Regions from separate parts of the Homo sapiens genome. Here region 1 is linked to region 2. Evidence: promoter capture Hi-C in 16 types of primary human blood cells and fetal thymus (Javierre and others, 2016). All regions are on one chromosome and are shown on one strand. Each heading gives the region's core, a stretch centred on a gene start or on the middle of the fragment in contact. The rest is flanking DNA. Distances are from core to core; before and after follow the strand shown. Region 1 has its middle 500 kb from the start of MIR4432. Region 2 holds the start of BCL11A (BCL11 transcription factor A).

The links. The method cuts DNA at HindIII sites, captures the fragments that hold promoters and counts their contacts. A CHiCAGO score of 5 or more calls a contact.
Region 1: a fragment that was not itself captured here is called in contact with the fragment with the promoter of BCL11A in region 2 in 1 of 17 cell types (fetal thymus); the score reaches 6.5 in fetal thymus.

The regions. Positions count from the first base shown.
Region 1 is chr2:59,883,262-59,887,209 of GRCh38, forward strand. No RefSeq gene overlaps it. Among named protein-coding and RNA genes, the nearest start is that of MIR4432, 500 kb to the right of the region's middle. The HindIII fragment of the contact is 2,640 bases long and covers 197-2,836 here.
Region 2 is chr2:60,551,103-60,555,029 of GRCh38, forward strand. BCL11A (BCL11 transcription factor A) reads right to left here and starts at 2,552. Exons shown (of 4, transcript NM_022893.4): 1 at 2,114-2,552. The coding sequence starts at 2,168. RefSeq lists silencers at 313-622, 683-742, 1,263-1,622, 3,032-3,121 and an enhancer at 3,812-3,861. The HindIII fragment of the contact is 6,342 bases long and covers 1-3,927 here.

The DNA of each region.
Region 1 (3,948 bases), core at 267-2,766, 670 kb before region 2:
GTGGAAATAGCTTTCTACGGAAGCTATAAAAAGTTGGAAGAGACAGATCTATTTCTTCTCACCGAGTGTTTTCAGACATATTGGAATGGAGAGCAGGTTCCCGAGAGCAGGTCTCACTTGGAGGCCCTACCACAATCCCTGCCACTTTGTTTTCAAACAGCCCTTTGTAGCCTTAGCCCCCAAGTCTTCTGGAGAAAGCTTTTTCCTTTCATATGTCTGACCTTATGATTCATCTGGCTCCTGTTCTAAAACCAATTATTACGTATTGTCTTTTGAATTTCACCCCGACACCACTTTGTCCTGACTTAATTCTATGACTGGCTTTTATTCAAAACCTTCATTTTTTCAGGAAGGTGTAAGAGCTGCAAATGGCCTGCTTCTAGAAGCTGTGAGTTAAACAGCAGCTCTGGTGATCAAAACTAGAGAGCTAGCATTTCATATATGCTGTTAAACAAAATGTGTACTTGTTTTATGATGGGGCTGAAAGGAAAACCAAAAACAAGGACCTAAGCAATGAGAGATAGGGTTCATGACTTCAGAAGGAGTATTACCAAAGTTCCTCTAGGCCTCTCTATATTGTTCTCCTGCCCACACTATTGCCTGTTTCAGAACTTGCTCCCCATCTTGTATTCTTTCTGGGTTCACTCCCTGCACCCTGGACTTTAACCTCACTATACAATTATCCAACACATCTATTGAAGGTGATCTCTCATAAATGTCTCCCAAATCCACTCTCTCCTCTACACTCCCATCCAAATTGGTCTAGTTCAAATTTGCCTCCTCCCTCATCTATTCTATCATAAGCCATAGCTTCCAAATTGGACTCCTTTTTTCCAGTTCTCCCTACATCCAGTTCATTTTTCACAGTGCTTTCCTAAAACAAAGATCTGACCATACCACTTGCCAACTTCCAAACCCCCAGTCGTTCCCCAGGATGTGTAAAATAAATTCAAAGTTTTTGGAGAAGCATACTAGTCCCTCCACAATCTAACCCCAACCTATTGCTTCAGCCTCTTCTTTTTTCCCAATACACCTTCTCAGACAGCAGATGGTAGGGCCACTCCAGGCTCTGACTCATCCAGAACATACTGTGCACTTTCCAGCCTGTGCCCTTCCCCGTGTTGTTTCCTCTACTAAGGATGCCATTTTCTTGGCCCCCAGCCCCATCAAAACCTGCCTACCTCATACCCAACCTTCAGGCTCAAACATGACCTCCTCTATGAAGCAACCTCCATTTTCTCTCCAAGCACAGTTCCCAGGTCCCTCATGAGGTCCCCTGGTGCAGCACCTCCCAGTGCTGATTTTCTATTCCAATTAAATCAGAATGCCTGGGAAGGAAACCTCGGGGAGTCAGCTTTTTTTTTTTTTTTTTTTTTTTTCAGAGGCAGAGTGTTGCTCTATTGCCCAGGTTGGAGTGCAGTGGCGCAATCTCAGCTCACTGAAACCTCCACCTCCTGAGTTCAAGCAATTCTCCTACCTCAGCCTCTCAAGTAGCTGGGATTACAGGCATGCACCACCATGCTGGGCTAATTTTTGTAATTTTAGTAGAGACAAGGTTTCACCGTGTTGCCCAGGCTGGTCTCAAACTCCTGGCCTCAGGTGATCCACCCACTTCAGGCTCCCAAAGTGGTGGCATTCCAGGCATGAGCCACCGCACCTGGCCTGGATCAGCATTTCTTAAGGGCTCCCCAGTTCTTTTCATACGGTCCAAGTTTGAAAAGCCCTACCCAAGCATTTGGTTTATATGCTTTCTATTTTTCACATTTAATCAGTATTTATTTATTGAGCAAATACACCACATCAAACAGTTGTGCTATATGTGGGGATACGGAAATAAATCAGGCCCAATATAAAAAGTAATAATAACATTCAATATGTATTATACATTTTATCATGTTTTATAACAAAATGATACCTCATATTTTAGCTATTTGTACATGTCTTTCTATTGCTGTTCCTTGACAATAACTGTTTCTCATTTATCTTTGCATCCTTTAGCACTTAACACAATGACTCATATTCAATAAACAGACGGTGATTTCATTAATTAATATATTTATTAATGTGTTAACTTTTGGATTAATGTGAAGGAATGATATTTTAACTTCAAACTCATCTGGCCTGAAAGAAACAGGAAGTTGTCCTTGCATTGCTGACTCTGAAACTGGTCACACACCCTCATCTGAGAGACAAGGATGGGCCGAGACCTGACGCTGTCCTGTGCCCACTGCCTGGACAGAGGAGATCCTCCTGACCCCCGACCGAGCCTCCAGTGGGCCCTAGATGAGTTCACTGGCTTTTGACAAAGGCACAGACATATACTAACCTCTTTTTGCTCTTTAAGGAACTACAGTTTACCAAGTCAAATGATCTCCACCTTTTAAACACTCGTGCAGCACCTCTCACCCCTACACCCCACCTCCACTTCTAAAGGAAAGGCAAGGAGGAGGGCTTGTTTTTTGTTCTCAGGCCAGGAGAGGGAGGCTCAGAGCAGCTCGGTTTGGCGGAAGTTCAGGGTGTCTGCTGGCCCACTTCCTTGGCTGTGTGTGCTTGAGAGGGAAAAATGATAAGTACGGGGAGCCCTCCGGGAAATTTCATCCACGCATTCACAGAGGCATTGGATAAATTAAATGTTTCACATGCTGCAACAACCAGGGTTTCAACTTTCAAAGAAAATCAACATCCCTCTGAAGAAGTTCACATGAGTGAGTCATTTCTTAATGTTAAAGTTTCCTGATTTAAGGGCATCCCCCTTTAAGAAATTTGAGGACCCACAAACATTTTCCCAATGGCAAGGTCACATATGACAACATGATTGTCACATTCTGGGCACCCAAGCTTCACTGAGGTGAGAAATTAATAGAAATTACAATTGTAAAGTATCTATATTTTACAACATTTATCTTCTTTTCACTTTGTTGTAAATAAAGCTTTGAAAAGGAAACATTATTTTCATTGTGTTAGATTTGTCCCCATCTTTTTCTTTCACATCACTGAAACTCCCAACTCAAGGATGAAATAAAGAAAATCAACCTCAAAGCTGAACCTATCGATTCTACCTTCCTTTCGATTCTCCCCTTAAAATGCTTCAGATGAATAATATTTCACTTCTCAGAAAAGAGAAAATTGATATCTTCGGCAAGCCATAATGCAAATGAGCATTAAAAGTAACAGAGAAGCCACCTCTTTTAATGATTAGTTTTAGTCAGGGAGGGGATCTGCACTCAGTAAAATCTTGACACAGATAAAGTTTTACATTTTTGGCCACTTCCTACTATCATGCCACCAAGAATGTTCTGAGCCACAGCCTTAGGAAACAAGAGACCCCCCTACGGCCTGCCCAGGCCCACAGCTGAATGCCTCCTAGAGATTCGGTGGGTGTCTCCCACCGAGACACCCATCTCTCCCCTCCTCACCACCAAAATGTTTGTGTGTCTTCAGTCCCCCAGGGCCAGCCCCTTCACTGATAAATTCATCCCATCAATGTATCTGTGATTTAATGTAAGAGATTAGCATTTTAACAAGGGCCTTCTGGAAATGCCTTTATCCAAAAAAGAACTATAATGTGACAAGATGTCAAGCCATTGGGAAGACTCTGGGGTGGGGTGGGGGGACACACTCTCCTGGTGTATCCTACACATCACACGCCAGAAAGCCAGCCGCCTACTTCATATCCCCACAGTGCTGGCCCTGTTTGAAAGATTGAAAGTCTTTTTACACAGACTCTCTCAAAGGAAGTTGTCACTTTGGGCTGTGCAAACCAAAACTCTTCCAAAATCAGGTGCTTGGGGAAAAAAAATTGAAGTACTTTTAATAATTTAAATGGCTCTTCTCTGCACATGCCCAGAACCCGAATCCCTTTTCCAACTGAAGTGCTTATATAAAAATTTGACAGCTCTTATAATTTTAAATTGCTCTACACTGAGTATGCCTGGAACCTTGATCACT
Region 2 (3,927 bases), core at 1,302-3,801:
ACAGAACCAAGTATAGGTGGTCCTTTAAAACTGCATCAAAAATTTAAAGTAAGAATCATAAATTGAGTAGGGGGGGAATGTGGGCCCTCACGCCTTTCTTTCCCTTGCTGCCAAACTTTCCTAAGTGCCCACCGCCCGCCTTTCCAGGCGCAGTCAGCGGGAGACAGCCACCACCACCAGCTCTTATACAGACTCACAAGAACCTCAGACCAAGCCAGGCCTGGGGAAGAGGGCAAGACCCAAAGGGTGAAGTGCTCGGGGTCCCAGGATCCAGCGCCCTTAAAATGCACACTCAAACACACTTCTCCCCTGCCCTTCCCCGGCAACCCCGCCACCTGGCCTAGTCGTGCTCGGGGCGCAGGGGGACTGGTGACCAGACCGGGCGGGGTGGGGGGTGGGCAGGGAAAGCACGTGGTGACCTCCTCGCGGTCCCGAGCTGTGGACAAGAGACGTCTGAGAAAGTACCCAGGGCGGAGGGGAGGGGAGGCGCAGAACGCGCTTTTACAGTTGCCCTGCAAAATAAAAATGCTTTGCAAAGCCGAGTTTCACCCAGCCGATTTCGCAGTCTGGGAGGTCGAGAAGAGGTCTCGGCATTGTGCTGGGGGCGGACCAGGACCACGGGCCAGGCTGGCGCGGAGACACTGCGTGGCCTGCCGCCGTGCCTGGCGGGTGGGCGCCGGGCGCCGGGTGGGCGATCCGGGGCTGGGCTGGGGCGCGGCGAGGTCGGGCAAGGCCCGGGCGAGGCCAGGCCGCCGCCGCCGCCTGCTCCGGGGCTGCCGCGCCGCGCTCGGTCCTCTGTCTGTTTGTTGGCAGGAGGCTCCCGCACACGCGGTGCTTGTAAACATTCAGACACGAGATTTTTCCCAATCAAAATCCACTTCCACTTTTTTTGAAAATCTTCCAAAAAATAGTAAGAGGAGGGAGTTCCTCTCTCCCTCTCCGTGCCGTCGGCGCCCTAAGTTTGCAACTGAAGGGGTTTGGGGGAAGAGGGTGATTGTAAATTTTTTTCTAGATGAGAGATTGTGAGATTTTTGCAGGGGGGCTGGTGGGGGAGTCAAAGAGAAGGCCGTCACAGAAAAGGGTTGGCAGAGCGTTTGGCTTCGGTTTGGGGGCAAGAAATTGTACATTCTCTTGCCTTGTTTTATTTATTTTATTTTTATGTATTTATTTATTTATGTGCCAGTCTTCTCCTTGCTGCCTCTGAGGTTCGGTCGGGAGGGGAGGGCAGCGGCAACCCAGGAGGCAGCAGTCCGGGCTCCCTCCCTCCCTCTCCCGCGTGCCCCCGGCCGCCTCCTCCCCCGGCCCTAGCTCCTGCCCTTCGGCGGCGGCGGCGGCGGCGGCGCGGGAGGGCAAGCGCGAGGAGCCGGCACAAAAGGCAGCGGGACAAACACCCACCTCTGGCCGGAACAAAAGGCGGCAGTGCCGGCCGCGTCTCCCGTCCTTCCCGGTCCCACGGCTCTCCCCGTCGCCGCGGCCCCTCTCCCGACTCCGCGGACTCAGGAGCGCCGGGGGCCCCTTTCCACAGTGCCACTTTCTCACTATTGTGGGGATGACTACTTTCCTCCCGCTGCACACTTGACCGTGAGCGCGCTGGTGTCCAAAAGCCAGTCTCACCTCTTTTCTCCCCGGGAATCGTTTTTTAGACTTGTACTCACTCCCTCCCTACCCCCCCATTTTCTTACGGTGAGTGGGAAGCAACCTCCCTTTCCCCACCAGCTCCCACCCCCAGGTTTGCATGTGAGTTGTTCGCAACCTTAGCATTGTTCATTATTTTGCAAAACTGGCGGGGCGGGGGGGGAGTGGAATCATTGCATTCCTTTTCGAAAAGAGAAATAAAGCGGCGGAAAGGAGGAAAGAGGAGGAGTCAAATTTTTGTAAAATTAAATAAAATTAAAAGGTGCGTGCTGTCTCAAAAGTGCATACACGGCAATGGTTCCAGATGGGATGAGGGTTTTTTCCCCCTTTATCTCTTTTACCTCGACTCTCGGAGGTTTTTCTCGTGAAAAATTTAAAAATGCATGCACACACCCCTCTCTCCCCCTCGCTTTTGCTTCTAGTCCTGCGCGCTCTCGTGATTATTAATAATTATTATTACTATTATTGGGTTACTTACGCGAGAATTCCCGTTTGCTTAAGTGCTGGGGTTTGCCTTGCTTGCGGCGAGACATGGTGGGCTGCGGGGCGGGCGGCGGCGGCGGCGGCGGCGGCGGCGGGCGGACGACGGCTCGGTTCACATCGGGAGAGCCGGGTTAGAAAGAAGGAGACTCCAGAGAAAATATCTTCATCAGTGCCTTTTGACATCCAAAATAAATTAGAAATAATACAAAGATGGCGCAGGGAAGATGAATTGTGGGAGAGCCGTCATGGCTTTTTTTTAAGCAAAAAAAAAAAAAAAAAAAAAAAAAAAAAGAGGGAGAGAGAGAGAAGAGAGATAGAGGGAGAGAGAGAGAGAGAGATGAAAAAAATGGCAAAAGCCCCCCTGAGCTGCAAGTTCAAGTGCGGACGTGACGTCCCTGCGAACTTGAACGTCAGGAGTCTGGATGGACAGAGACACACAAAACATGGGCAGGGCGAGCAGGAGAGAAGGGGAGGAGGGAAGGGGAAGCTCACACCAATGGACACACATCAGGGGCTGGACATGAAAAAGAGACCAGGACAAGCCAATGGCCAGTGCGGGGAGGGGGAGGTGCGGGGCGGGGGGCTCCGCGGACGCCAGACGCGGCCCCCGGGGGAGGGGCGGGCCGAGGGGAGGGGGCGCTGGGGCCGCGGGCTCACCAGTGGCCGCAGCGAGCGCCGCGGCGGTGGCGTGGCCGGGAGAGAAGAAAGGGGTGGCAGGGGTGGGAGGAAAGGGTGGGGGGGAGCAAGACGTGCGCCCTGCTCCCCCCCACACACGCGGACTCTAAAATGAAAGATTATTCAAAAAAGAAAAAAATAGAGCGAGAGTGCACCGGGAGGCTGCAGCCCCGGGCTGGGGAAGCGCGGGCGGAGGGAAGCCAGGTAGAGTTGCTCCCGGACACCCTCCTCCGTACGCACACCCACTTCCCCTCCCCGCCGCCGCCGCGCTCGCTCCCCGCGTGTGGACGCCAGGGGCCGAAGTAAAAGCCCCGAGCCCGCGGCTGCGCTCGGGAAACTTTGCCCGAGGAGAGGACAGCAAAGAAAAATCACCCGAAGTTGAGAGCTGAGCCTCCAAGTTACAGCTCCGCAGCGGGCGAGGGGAGGTGGGAGGGAGCGCACGGCAACGCGGAATCCAGCCTAAGTTTGGAGGGCTGCGGGTCCGGAAGGGCAGCGCCCAAGTCTCCAGGAGCCCGCGCGGCCTGGAAAGAGGGGACCGGGGAGAGGCAGGCGGCGCAGGCCGGGGCCCGAGGGCGCCCCCAAGGCCGAGCCAGGGACCGGGAATCTGAGCGCCCCGCCAAGCGACTGGGTCTGAATGCAACTGAAAGCGCCGAGTCCCCGGCTCCTAAGGGTCGCAGAAAGAGAGCCCGAGGAATAAAGAACGAGGAGCCAGAGTCTGGCCCCCGGAGGGGAGCGCCGGGGGCCTGGGCAAGAGAGGCACCGAGGCGTCCACCTCTCTGAGAGGCCGAGGACAAAGCGCGGGCAGTCCCGGGAGTCCCAGTCCCTGGGAATGTGCTCACGGCGCCGCGGGAGGTCCCCGAGCCGGGTCCCTGGGAGGGACACACCCCCTCCCACTCCAGAGCAACTGCAAAAGCACAGAGGGATGGGAAGAAAATGTTTCTTACGGGCAGAGCACAACTGTTCCTGTGCTGTTACCCAGGGAAAGAGAAAATGGGAATGGAGAGAGAGCGACAGGCTCGCAGGAGCAGCGGGGAGACCACGGTGGTGAGATGACCGCCTCGGGTCACCGCCGCGCTCCCCAGGCGCCGCCGGCCAAGGCGCACACCCAGGAGCCAGCAGCCCCCTCTCGCCTTT